3 separate regions of the Homo sapiens genome follow, and regions 2 and 3 are each linked to region 1. The links are contacts of gene promoters, found by promoter capture Hi-C in blood cells and fetal thymus (Javierre and others, 2016). All regions are on one chromosome and are shown on one strand. The core of a region is centred on a gene start or on the middle of the fragment in contact, and the rest is flanking DNA. Distances in the headings are between cores, read along the strand shown. Region 1 holds the start of BET1L (Bet1 golgi vesicular membrane trafficking protein like). Region 2 holds the start of DRD4 (dopamine receptor D4). Region 3 holds the start of MIR210HG (MIR210 host gene).

Region 1 (3,271 bases), core at 1-2,500:
ACCAAGGTTCCAGCAGGTGAATCTTGCACATGAGACAGGCTGCATAAAGGACGATGTGTGTAAGGGCCTGTCATGTGAACACATGTCCTGTGTACACATCAAGGTGGGGATGGGCAAGCACCCACAATGGGTTCGGTCCAACCAGCACCTTCTGAGACTGTGTAGCAAAAACTGGACCCAGCCCTGGGGTGCTAGTATGATGTGACACTTGCATCCAGGGAGGTCACCATCTGTGTATGTGGAGCCCATTCTTATAGAAAAAGAGTAAACTCTGCTAAGAGCATAGAAAAGACTTGGGAAAAGTACCCAGCAAGGCAGCAGAAAGGCTCCTGCAGAGACGACCTTTGAGCTAGGTCCTGAAGAGGTGGCAAGGAACCAGGACAGAACATTGGGAAGGCCCTTTACCGCACAGAAAATGGCTGAGCAAAGTTCCCAATTTCCCCGAGACGGGAGCTGAGGTCGACCAGGAGCGGGATCCTTGGTCTGCATCCCGCATGGGGCTTCCTGCAACACCCAGGGCAGAGTGCTCGCAGAGGCCTGGCCTGTGACAGGCTGGGCCAGGGGATAAGGAAGTTCTGTCACATCAGGTGCGTGAGAACCACCTCCTCCCTAGCTTCAGTGTCAGGAAGGGATGCCAGCGTCCTTCCAGCCACTTCATATTTATAAATTCCTTTAATCATCATAACACCTCACAGAGACAGGCATCAATATCCCACTTTGCAGACAAGAACACGGGCTCCAGGAGGGGAAATGGGGCCACCGAGGCCAAAGTAAGAGTCCTGCTTGGACACCAGCGGAGCACAGCCTCTACTCCTAGGGCCTGGCCTCGGGACCTGTCGAATGCCGACTCCCGCTCACCCCGAACCCATGCAGAACGATCTCACAGGGGGCGGCGGGGAGTGGGGAGACCCCGCTGCTGCGCGACCCCTCGCTGGAGCTGCTGGGCCGCCACGCGCGCCTTCGGTCCTAACGGCAGTGCCGGCCGAAACCCGGCCCTGCTCGGACCCGGAAGGATCCGAATCCGCCCCCCTGACAGGGTCCTCTCGGCCGAGGTCACCCCAGCTGGGCCAGAGGCAGGCGCACGCGGCTCTACAGGCAGCGGCGTCGGTTTCGGCCCGGCCCTGCCCCCAACGGCTCCGCTCTCCCGCGCTCACCCCGAGCCCAGTCCGCCATCGTGCCCTGCCCCGGCTCCTCGACGCGGACACCGACGCGGCCACAGCCGCCTCAGACGTGGCGCAGTCGCGGGGAAAGAGCTTCCGGCCCCGCCCCCAGCTAGCGATGGCCCCGCCTCCGCACCGACCACGCCCCTAGATAGCCCAGCCCCTTCCGCTTCGGGCTCGCTGACTTCCGGCTTAGGGCCGAGGGTGGGGAACTGCCGGGCGCGGAAGCGATGGGCATATCTGTGGCTTATTTTCAGCACTGTCGCGCAGACAGTGGCGCGATCTCAGCTCACTGCAGCCCCCGCCTGCCGGGCTCCCAAGGTGCTGGGATTACAGCAGCACCGCGGATGTGACGTTTGGTGTTCCTGTGAACGTGGGGCGGGGCGGGGCCGTTTGCTTGCTCAGTGCCTAGACGATGGTGGTGGAAAGACGCTTCTGTGGGTTAGGTCCTAACGGTTAGGAAGGATTCACAGGCGGGTCATGAGGAAGGAGCAGACCCCTCGGGCAGAAGCCCGCGAGGAGCACTGGGTGTGGTGGGGGCAGGGGTGCCTCCTCTGTCAAGTGGAGATCGGCGCCTCGCTCGTGCCTGCGAGTGCGCGCCGCGTCGAATACAGCCGTACAGAACGCACTACAGGAAAGTGAAGCCGGGAGAGAGACTGGGAGGCGGCGCGGGGACTGGGGGCCGTAGACGCCTTTGCTCCCGGGCACTTGTTAGAAGAGCGAGTGGATCGCGCTTCCTGTGCGTCACTGAATCCTCATGACGGCCACTGAAACGGACACGCAGGATCTTTGCTTTTCAAGAGGGAACTGAGTCCAGGCCAGACTGGGTTGCTCCCCTTTCTCTCGGCCCCTCCACCTTTGCAAGTGCTGCTCCTTCTGCCTGGAGTGGCTCCTCCAGTCTTTTCCCGGCTCACTTCCCACCGTCCGGTGTCAGCAAAAACAGCACTTCCTCACAGCCCGTTGCAGCCCAGCAGTCGCCTTTTGCTTCTTTTGAAGCACAGCCCTGTGACCGCCTCGTGTCCTTTTGTTTTTCCTTGTCCCCCTTCCCCTCTGGAACATAAGCTCCACAAAGGCAGGGACCTGGGAATCCCGTTCGCCTGCATTCCCCAGCAAACGCCTAACGAACCCAATGGCCCAGGACTGAAAATTCCTTTCCACTTCGGCTTTCCCCTCTACATCCCATCGGTTCTGTGGAGCTCGAGGGGCGTCACTGTGTGTGTGGCAGGGCACGGTGGGGGCTGAGATCGTTTCCTGTTGGAACTTCTGGCCCAAGAAGCGCGGGTCACAAGGAGAGGGGTCAGTTCGGTTCAGAGCGACTCAGCCCCTCGACTCGGGTCTTAAAACCTCCGAGCCGCCAGTTCTGCCTCAGGCCGCGCCCCCTTAAAGCGCCACCAGACGCTGCGCCCCGTTAAAGCGCCACCAGACGCCGCGCCCCGTCCCGGCCTCCCCCGCGCGCTGGCGCGGGGCTTTCTGGGCCAGGGCGGGGCCGGCGAACTGCGGCCCGGAACGGCTGAGGAAGGGCCCGTCCCGCCTTCCCCGGCGCGCCATGGAGCCCCGGGCGGTTGCAGAAGCCGTGGAGACGGGTGAGGAGGATGTGATTATGGAAGCTCTGCGGTCATACAACCAGGAGGTAAGCGGCCGCCTGAGGCCGGGGGGCGGGCACGGAGGGGGTGGGGCAGGGTCGTGCGCGGGTAGCAGGGAGGGCGTGGGTGAGGCAGAGGCTGTGTCAGCAAGCGTAGGGGACGCGGCGGGGTGCGGGGGGCAGGTCTGGGATGCAGTGTTGCGGGGAGAGTGGGGGTGCACCCGTTGGGTGGCAGGCGTGTAGGGATGGGGGCGAGTGCCGACCCTGCCATCCGTTCTGAGCAGTGGCTGCTGCCTGAGTTAGAGGCCAATAGGCCGCCCGCATCAGCGGACGCGGATCCTACCCCTCTGTGGATTTGAATTCACTAGTTCTCTCTGCAGCACTCCCAGAGCTTCACGTTTGATGATGCCCAACAGGAGGACCGGAAGGTGGGTGCTGGCCCAAGGGGTAAAGGGGCAGGGACGGGTGGCCCCAGGAAGAAGGGCCTGGTGGAGCCGCTCTTCTCCCTGCCCACAGAGACTGGCGGAGC
Region 2 (3,271 bases), core at 243-2,742, 430 kb after region 1:
CCACCCTCCCCGGTTCCATCCTGGGAGAGAAGAAACTTCCACTGTCCCAGTCTCTCCTGTGGTGACTTCTTTTGCTCAAGGGTTCACAAGGGCAGCAGACTGATCTGCACAAGAGGGACTGAGCCTGGCTGCGGCCGCACCTGATGCCTGTGCACACCTGTCCCTGGTGGTCTCTCCTGTGGTGACTTCTTTTGCTCAAGGGTTCACAAGGGCAGCAGACTGATCTGCACAAGAGGGACTGAGCCTGGCTGCGGCCGCACCTGATGCCTGTGCACACCTGTCCCTGGTGCAGGCCCTTCCCCCGCAGCCCCGTGACCTTGTCCTGTGAGGCTCACGGTGCCTGCTCCTTCTCAGAGTCCTCATTTCTCCCTTTAACGCACGCCCTGTCAGCGCCTCCGTCTAGCCCGTGTCCTCCAGACCTTCGAGGTCAGGGGCCTCAATTCCTGGCACAGCCCCTCCACTCCAGGCCTCCCAGAAACAGACTAGAGCATCAGGATGTGCGCCGCCTGGGGTCCCACAGAGTGGTGCCCCCTTTTAGTGTCTTCTAGGCCCCTTAGTGACAGACTACAGAAAATACCTCTCAGGTCACAGGTCACCCCTCTTTGGTGAAGAGTCCATAGAATTCTCTGCTGCGCTTTGCAAGCACTTTCTCTTCTGCACGTTTGGAACCTACCCCGGCCTGTCGTGTCTTTCTCCTGGCCTCCTCGCGAGCCGAACCTACTGTCCGGTCCCGGGACCCCCTGCCCAGGGTCAGAGGGGCGCCTACCTAGCTCACGGTCTTGGGCCGGAGGGAATGGAGGAGGGAGCGGGGTCGACCGCTCAGCTGTCCGCCCAGTTTCGGAGGCGGCCACGCGAGGATCAACTGTGCAACGGGTGGGGCCGCGGCTGACCGTGGTGGTCGCGGGGGCTGAGGGCCAGAGGCTGCGGGGGGGGGGCGGCGGGATGAGCTAGGCGTCGGCGGTTGAGTCGGGCGCGGAGTCGGGGGCAGGGGGAGCGGGCGTGGAGGGTGCGCACGAGGTCGAGGCGAGTCCGCGGGGGAGGCGGGCAGAGCCTGAGCTCAGGTCTTTCTGCGTCTGGCGGAACGGGCCTGGGAGGGAGGTTTTGCCAGATACCAGGTGGACTAGGGTGAGCGCCCGAGGGCCGGGACGCACGCACGGGCCGGGTAGGATGGCGCTGGCGTCGATGCCCGCGCGCTTCAGGGCCTGGTCTGGCCGCCCCTCCATCCTTGTCGGTTTCTCGGGTCGCGGACCCCGCGCGGCGCCGGGCGATGCTGGCCTGCCCGTGGCCACCACCTCGCTTCATTCCCGTCTCTTTGGGCCGCCGCATTCGTCCACGTGCCCGTCTCTCCCTGCGCAAAATTCCAAGATGAGCAAATACTGGGCTCACGGTGGAGCGCCGCGGGGGCCCCCCTGAGCCGGGGCGGGTCGGGGGCGGGACCAGGGTCCGGCCGGGGCGTGCCCGAGGGGAGGGACTCCCCGGCTTGCGACCCGGCGTTGTCCGCGGTGCTCAGCGCCCGCCCGGGCGCGCCATGGGGAACCGCAGCACCGCGGACGCGGACGGGCTGCTGGCTGGGCGCGGGCCGGCCGCGGGGGCATCTGCGGGGGCATCTGCGGGGCTGGCTGGGCAGGGCGCGGCGGCGCTGGTGGGGGGCGTGCTGCTCATCGGCGCGGTGCTCGCGGGGAACTCGCTCGTGTGCGTGAGCGTGGCCACCGAGCGCGCCCTGCAGACGCCCACCAACTCCTTCATCGTGAGCCTGGCGGCCGCCGACCTCCTCCTCGCTCTCCTGGTGCTGCCGCTCTTCGTCTACTCCGAGGTGAGCCGCGTCCGGCCGCACGAGCATCCTCACCTGCTCCTCGGTTCCCCGTCCCTGTCCCTACGGAGGACCCGGCGCGACCCGGCCCCTTTCTGGTGCGGAGCTTCCAGCTGGGGCGGCGGCAGGGGCGCTGCGCCTTGTCCCTCGGCGATACACCCACCGCCGCCACCTCGCGACCTTCCACCCGCTGCGCTGTCTGTCCCCCGACCCTCGTTCCTCTTCTCCTTCCCCGTCTGTCTTGGCGTCTGTTATCCAGGAGATGCCCGTCCTTCTATCCAGGGACCCCGGAAACAGGCGACTTTGTCAAGCCCAGTCCCCTCCGTAGCTGGATTTCACCTCCAGGGCAGCCAGCTGGACAGACAGGCAGATGCAGGCTCAGCCCCCTGGCTGCCGTGGGACACACACACACACACACTGCCACAGCCACTGCCCACCACACACACCTAGTGCAGATGCTGGCACACCCCCAGAAGGAGGCTCACAGCTCGCAGGGGAGACCTGGGCTGGACAAAACCCAGGGGAGGGGAGGGTGTGTGGGGACCAGGCCCCTGCTGAGAACCCTGGGGGGAAGCCTGAGGGGGAATTGGGGGATGGAGCCCACACTCCACACCAGGTCTGGCCCTCGAGTGGGTCGGCCTTGGTGCCAGCCCCTCTGCGGCCAGAGAAAAGCAGCTTAGGGCTGAGCTGGAGACGCGGTGTCCCCGACTGTGGGGGAGGGGGACTCGAGGTTTCCCCTTGATGGACACAGTGAATCCAGGCGGCTGGGGCAGAGACCAGCAGCACGGGACACGCGTGACCTGTGCTCCTTTCGAGCCGCAGACGTCACAGTGACGACGTTTAAGCTCCTAATCTCCCCAAATCGGCGGGAAGGATTAGAGGGGCTGCCTGCTCCTTTGCCCTTGGAGAGAGTCACTCCACGTGGAGTCCTACGCTGGGCACTGGGCACGGTCTTCATATTTTTAATTATAATTTATCTTCAAGACAATTATGATGTGGATACTATCATCACCCTTGTCTTACAGATGAAGAAACAGAAATGAATTAACGTGCCCGAGTCTCCCACAGAGAACTTAGCCAACAGAGCAGCCAGCTTCGCTTCTAGGCCCAGCGGGGACCCTGCCTACCCCAGGCTGGGGAGGGGCTCCCTTTGAGCCCGATGATATCAGGCCCGCCCCCAGGGAATTCCCCAGGCCGTTCTCATGTTTGTAACAAAAGGGAGACCAAGGCCAGAAGCCGTGATTCACGCCTGTAATCCCAGGACTTTGGGAGGCAAAGGCAGGAGGATAGTTTGAGACCAGCCTGGGAAACATACCAGGCCTGGTCTCTACAAAAAATTTTAAAATATCAGCCGGGGGTGGTGGCTGCGGCTGTTGTCCCAGCTATTCGGGGGAGCTGAGGCGGCAGAATCGCTTAAACCTGGGAGGCGGAGGTTGCAGTGAGTTGAGATCTCACCACTGC
Region 3 (3,271 bases), core at 396-2,895, 360 kb after region 1:
TTTAGTAGAGACGAGGTTTCACCATGTTGCCCAGGCTGGTCTTGAACTCCTGATCTCAAGTGAGCGATCACCCGCGTCTGCCTCCTGAAGTGTTGGGATTACGGGTGTGAGCCACCACACCCGGCCTCTCACTGGCTGTTTCAGGTGAACCAAATCCCATGGCCCCAAAAAGTGGCCAGAGTGCTTCAGATCACTCAGCAAACCTTTGAGTTGCTGAAAAGTTTACTTTTGAGTTTTAAACTGTACTTTGAAAACTATATTGTGAACTGTGTTGACATGAGGAAAGGCTGGGCTCCCTGAAAACATCCAGTTCCACAGCAGGGCGGGCCCAAGCCCAGCCAATCCCCAGGCAATGCAGGGCAGGGATCCCACCTGGTGTAAGTACGGGCAGAGGGCAGAGCCAGGCTGTATCGAGGGGCGGCGCTGGGACCCTCCTCGCCCAGAGTTCCTACTCATCCCCAGCACAGAAGTGCTCTGTAGGGCCAGCTGAGGACACCCCGGTTCACTGAGGGTGGCCCACAGTAAGTCGCCGTCTGGCAGTAAGTTAGCTCTGCAGGTGTGGACCCCAAGACCACACACAGCCTTTCTCAGGTGCAGGTCCTGCCAAGCCTCACTTCGCAGTGGTGACAGGCAACCCCGTCAGGGCAGGGAGCTTCCAAAGGCCAGTCCGAGTCCATGCCAGGCGTCCACTAAATCTGCCTCTCCCTCTCCAGCGAGCAGGTGCAGCCCTCAACTCCTGCAGGCCTGGGGAGCGGAGACAGGGCCTGTAGGCTCGGACACGACCCGGTCCTGATTTTAACAGTAGACTTGAGAAGGCAGGCTCAGCAGACAGGCTGCTGGAGGATCCACCCGCTGTCTCCCGCAGCGGCCCCACTGAAGCGGCAGAAACACACAGAAGCACCAAATCTGTCACTCTCTTCCCGTAGGAAGTCCCCAGAGGTGGCCCTCCGGAGGATGGTCCTGTTGGCTGAAGATATGACCACACCTGTGCCTGCCCAGGGCCACCTTCAGCTTGGCAACAGGAACTCCGCACACTGGTACCCTGGACACACAAGGAAAAGAAAGTTCCCTCCAAGAGGGTATCTGGCCCAGCCTCAGCCCCACCAAGCGGAGGGCAGCAAAGCCCCCGAATGATTTCGCTTACCCCCACCCGCCGTCCCTGCTGGCCAGACAGGCACACCCCGTCCATAGGGCACCCCCTCCCCACGGTATCCAGCTGCCCTCGCGTCCCCGTGTGGCCGCTCGCCTGCCCGCCAGACCCGGACACGGGGCCAGGAGGGTCGCGCTGCCCAGGCACAGATCAGCCGCTGTCACACGCACAGTGGGTCTGGGGCAGCGCAGTGTGCGGTGGGCAGGGGCTGCCCTGCGCCTGGAGGCACTGCCGGGTGGGCGGGCGGAGGGATTGACCCCACCCCCGTCCCCTCCAACTTGGGCGTCCGAGCCCCGCCGCGCCTGCCCAGCCCGACCCCCCGCAGCCCCCGCGGGAGGGCGGCCTCTGAGGGGCGCCCCGCCCGCCAACCTGGGATCCCTCGCGCGTCACCTGCGACCCCGGCGCGGGGCCGTCGCCGGCTCTCGGCCCAACTTCAGCTGCGGCCGCTGGCACCCTCTCGCCCCCCGGCCCGACCCGACCGGCCCCGGGCCCCGCGGCTCCACGCCCAGCCCCGTATGCAAATGACCTGGTCCCTCAGCCAATGGCCGGCCTAGCCGGGCCCGCCCTACCGCAACGCAGCCAGTGGGCGCGAGGGGGGTTCGCGACGCCCCGCCCACCGCCGCGCGGCCCTTCGCGGGCGAGGCCGGCGCGTTCTTTTCTGCACGTCTGCCCGGGGAGGGGCGGCACCTGCCGGGCGGGGCCTGCGGGGCGCCAGCTGCGAGGGCGCGGCGGGGCCAGGGCGCGTCCCCCGGCCGGGCGGATGGTACGGCCCGAGGTGGTCCTCCTCCCGCCGCGCGGTGGTATGGCCCGGGCTCGCGGGGCTTCCGGGCTGGGCGTGGGGCGCAGCCTGGCGACGGGTCCTCCGCCCGCGGGTGTGCGTGGGGCGGCAGGGCCGGCCGGGAGCTGCCCCTCTTCCCGCGGCGCGGTGGTACGACCCGGCCGCCTCCGTGCCCCGCACCCGCGTCCCGCGGGCCCGCCCCCCCCAACCCGCTGGGCGCCCGGCGCACGTATCCCGGGCCGTGACCCGGGTGGGGCCTGCGCGGGCCCGGACACGGCGTCCTCGGGACGCACGCACCACCCCCCGGGCGGCTTGGGGTCCCCAAAGGACGCCCGGGTCCGTCCTGCTGGCGAAGAGGGGGCTCTGGCTCTGCCTGGTTTGCCTGGCGACCCCCACGGGGCGCCCTTGGGGGCTCTGGGTCCCTCCTGCGCGCTCTGTCTCCGCGGAAGCCTCTGGAGCCTGGAGGGGGTGCCTCAAGGGCTCAGGGGTCTTCGCAGCCCTGTGCCGGTCTTTGAGGGGACGAGGCGAGAGAATCCTGTCTGTGCGCTGAAAACGTGTAAAATCAAAGGAGCCTTGACGGTTTGACCTTCGTTAGGACTCGCAGGGCCAGCTTCAGACGTGGAAGTATCGGACTCCGGGGTGGGGCTCCAAAGTGGCAGCCAAAGGAGATTTGGCCGCCGGCCCCCCTTGGCACTGTCACCCTGGTCCTCGGCCCCGGGCCGTCTCCCCTCAGCTCCCTGGCCCTAAACTCACCGCCCTGCTCTTTGTCCTCCCCTGGCCCCATGACCTCCCTGCCTCGGCATCCGCGCAGGCCTGGGCCGCAGCCTGCCCCCTGCCCCAGCCCCGGCGGCAAAGTGCTGGGGCCCCAGGGAGCTTCCGAACCAGCCCATGTCCTCAGGGGCTTGAAGGCTGGGGACAAAAATTCAGATGCAGAGTCTGGGGTGACTCAGACATGATCAGCAAGACATGACCGAGGTCTTGCTGACCCCTTGACCCTTGGCCCCCGATAGAACCGAGTGGCTCCTTGCACCTGTGGCTGCCTGTGGATGGGGAAGGTGCCCAGAGGATCACGGAGCCACTCGGTTCTATTGGGGGTCAGGGGTCAGCAAGACCTCGATCCTGTGGGTCGTGAAGGAGCCTCTAAGAGTCAGTGGGGTCCCTGAGAAGGCCCACGTCTTCATGGCAGGGCAGAGGCTCCTAGGGCAGTCAGACTAGGGGACAAGAAGGGGCAAGAGGACAGGGCAGCTCTGTGTTCCTGTCGTGCCCTGCTGACGTGAACCCACTTCTGCCCCCAGTCCTGCCAATTTCACAGGCACCTTTTCTCAGCATCTGTAGTGAGTGGG

What was found. The method cuts DNA at HindIII sites, captures the fragments that hold promoters and counts their contacts. A CHiCAGO score of 5 or more calls a contact.
Region 2: the fragment with the promoter of DRD4 here is called in contact with the fragment with the promoter of BET1L in region 1 in 7 of 17 cell types (total CD4 T cells, fetal thymus, monocytes and 4 more); the score reaches 7.2 in total CD4 T cells.
Region 3: a contact is called between the fragment with the promoter of MIR210HG here and the fragment with the promoter of BET1L in region 1, in 4 of 17 cell types (naive CD8 T cells, total CD4 T cells, fetal thymus and 1 more). The highest score is 6.6, in naive CD8 T cells.

Annotation. Positions count from the first base shown.
Region 1 is chr11:206,149-209,419 of GRCh38, forward strand. BET1L (Bet1 golgi vesicular membrane trafficking protein like) reads right to left here and starts at 1,251. Exons shown (of 4, transcript NM_001098787.2): 1 at 1,155-1,251. The coding sequence starts at 1,173. RIC8A (RIC8 guanine nucleotide exchange factor A) reads left to right here and starts at 1,560. Exons shown (of 10, transcript NM_001286134.2): 1 at 1,560-2,790; 2 at 3,123-3,170; 3 at 3,259-3,271. The coding sequence starts at 2,707. MIR6743 (microRNA 6743) reads left to right here and starts at 3,188; the gene lies at 3,188-3,258. RefSeq lists enhancers at 1-166, 477-978, 1,525-2,146, 2,002-2,171, 2,147-2,766 and 1 more and silencers at 923-982, 1,093-1,212, 2,274-2,472, 2,473-2,762, 2,833-2,942. The HindIII fragment of the contact is 6,341 bases long and covers 1-3,271 here.
Region 2 is chr11:635,777-639,047 of GRCh38, forward strand. DRD4 (dopamine receptor D4) reads left to right here and starts at 1,493. Exons shown (of 4, transcript NM_000797.4): 1 at 1,493-1,813. The coding sequence starts at 1,529. RefSeq lists enhancers at 1-310, 311-844, 1,380-1,913, 1,914-2,448, 2,449-2,982 and 1 more. The HindIII fragment of the contact is 12,616 bases long and covers 1-3,271 here.
Region 3 is chr11:566,812-570,082 of GRCh38, forward strand. It overlaps MIR210HG (MIR210 host gene), which reads right to left and starts at 1,646. Exons shown (of 2, transcript NR_038262.1): 1 at 1,541-1,646; 2 at 1-1,042. MIR210 (microRNA 210) reads right to left here and starts at 1,387; the gene lies at 1,278-1,387. RefSeq lists an enhancer at 2,578-3,271. The HindIII fragment of the contact is 23,407 bases long and covers 1-3,271 here.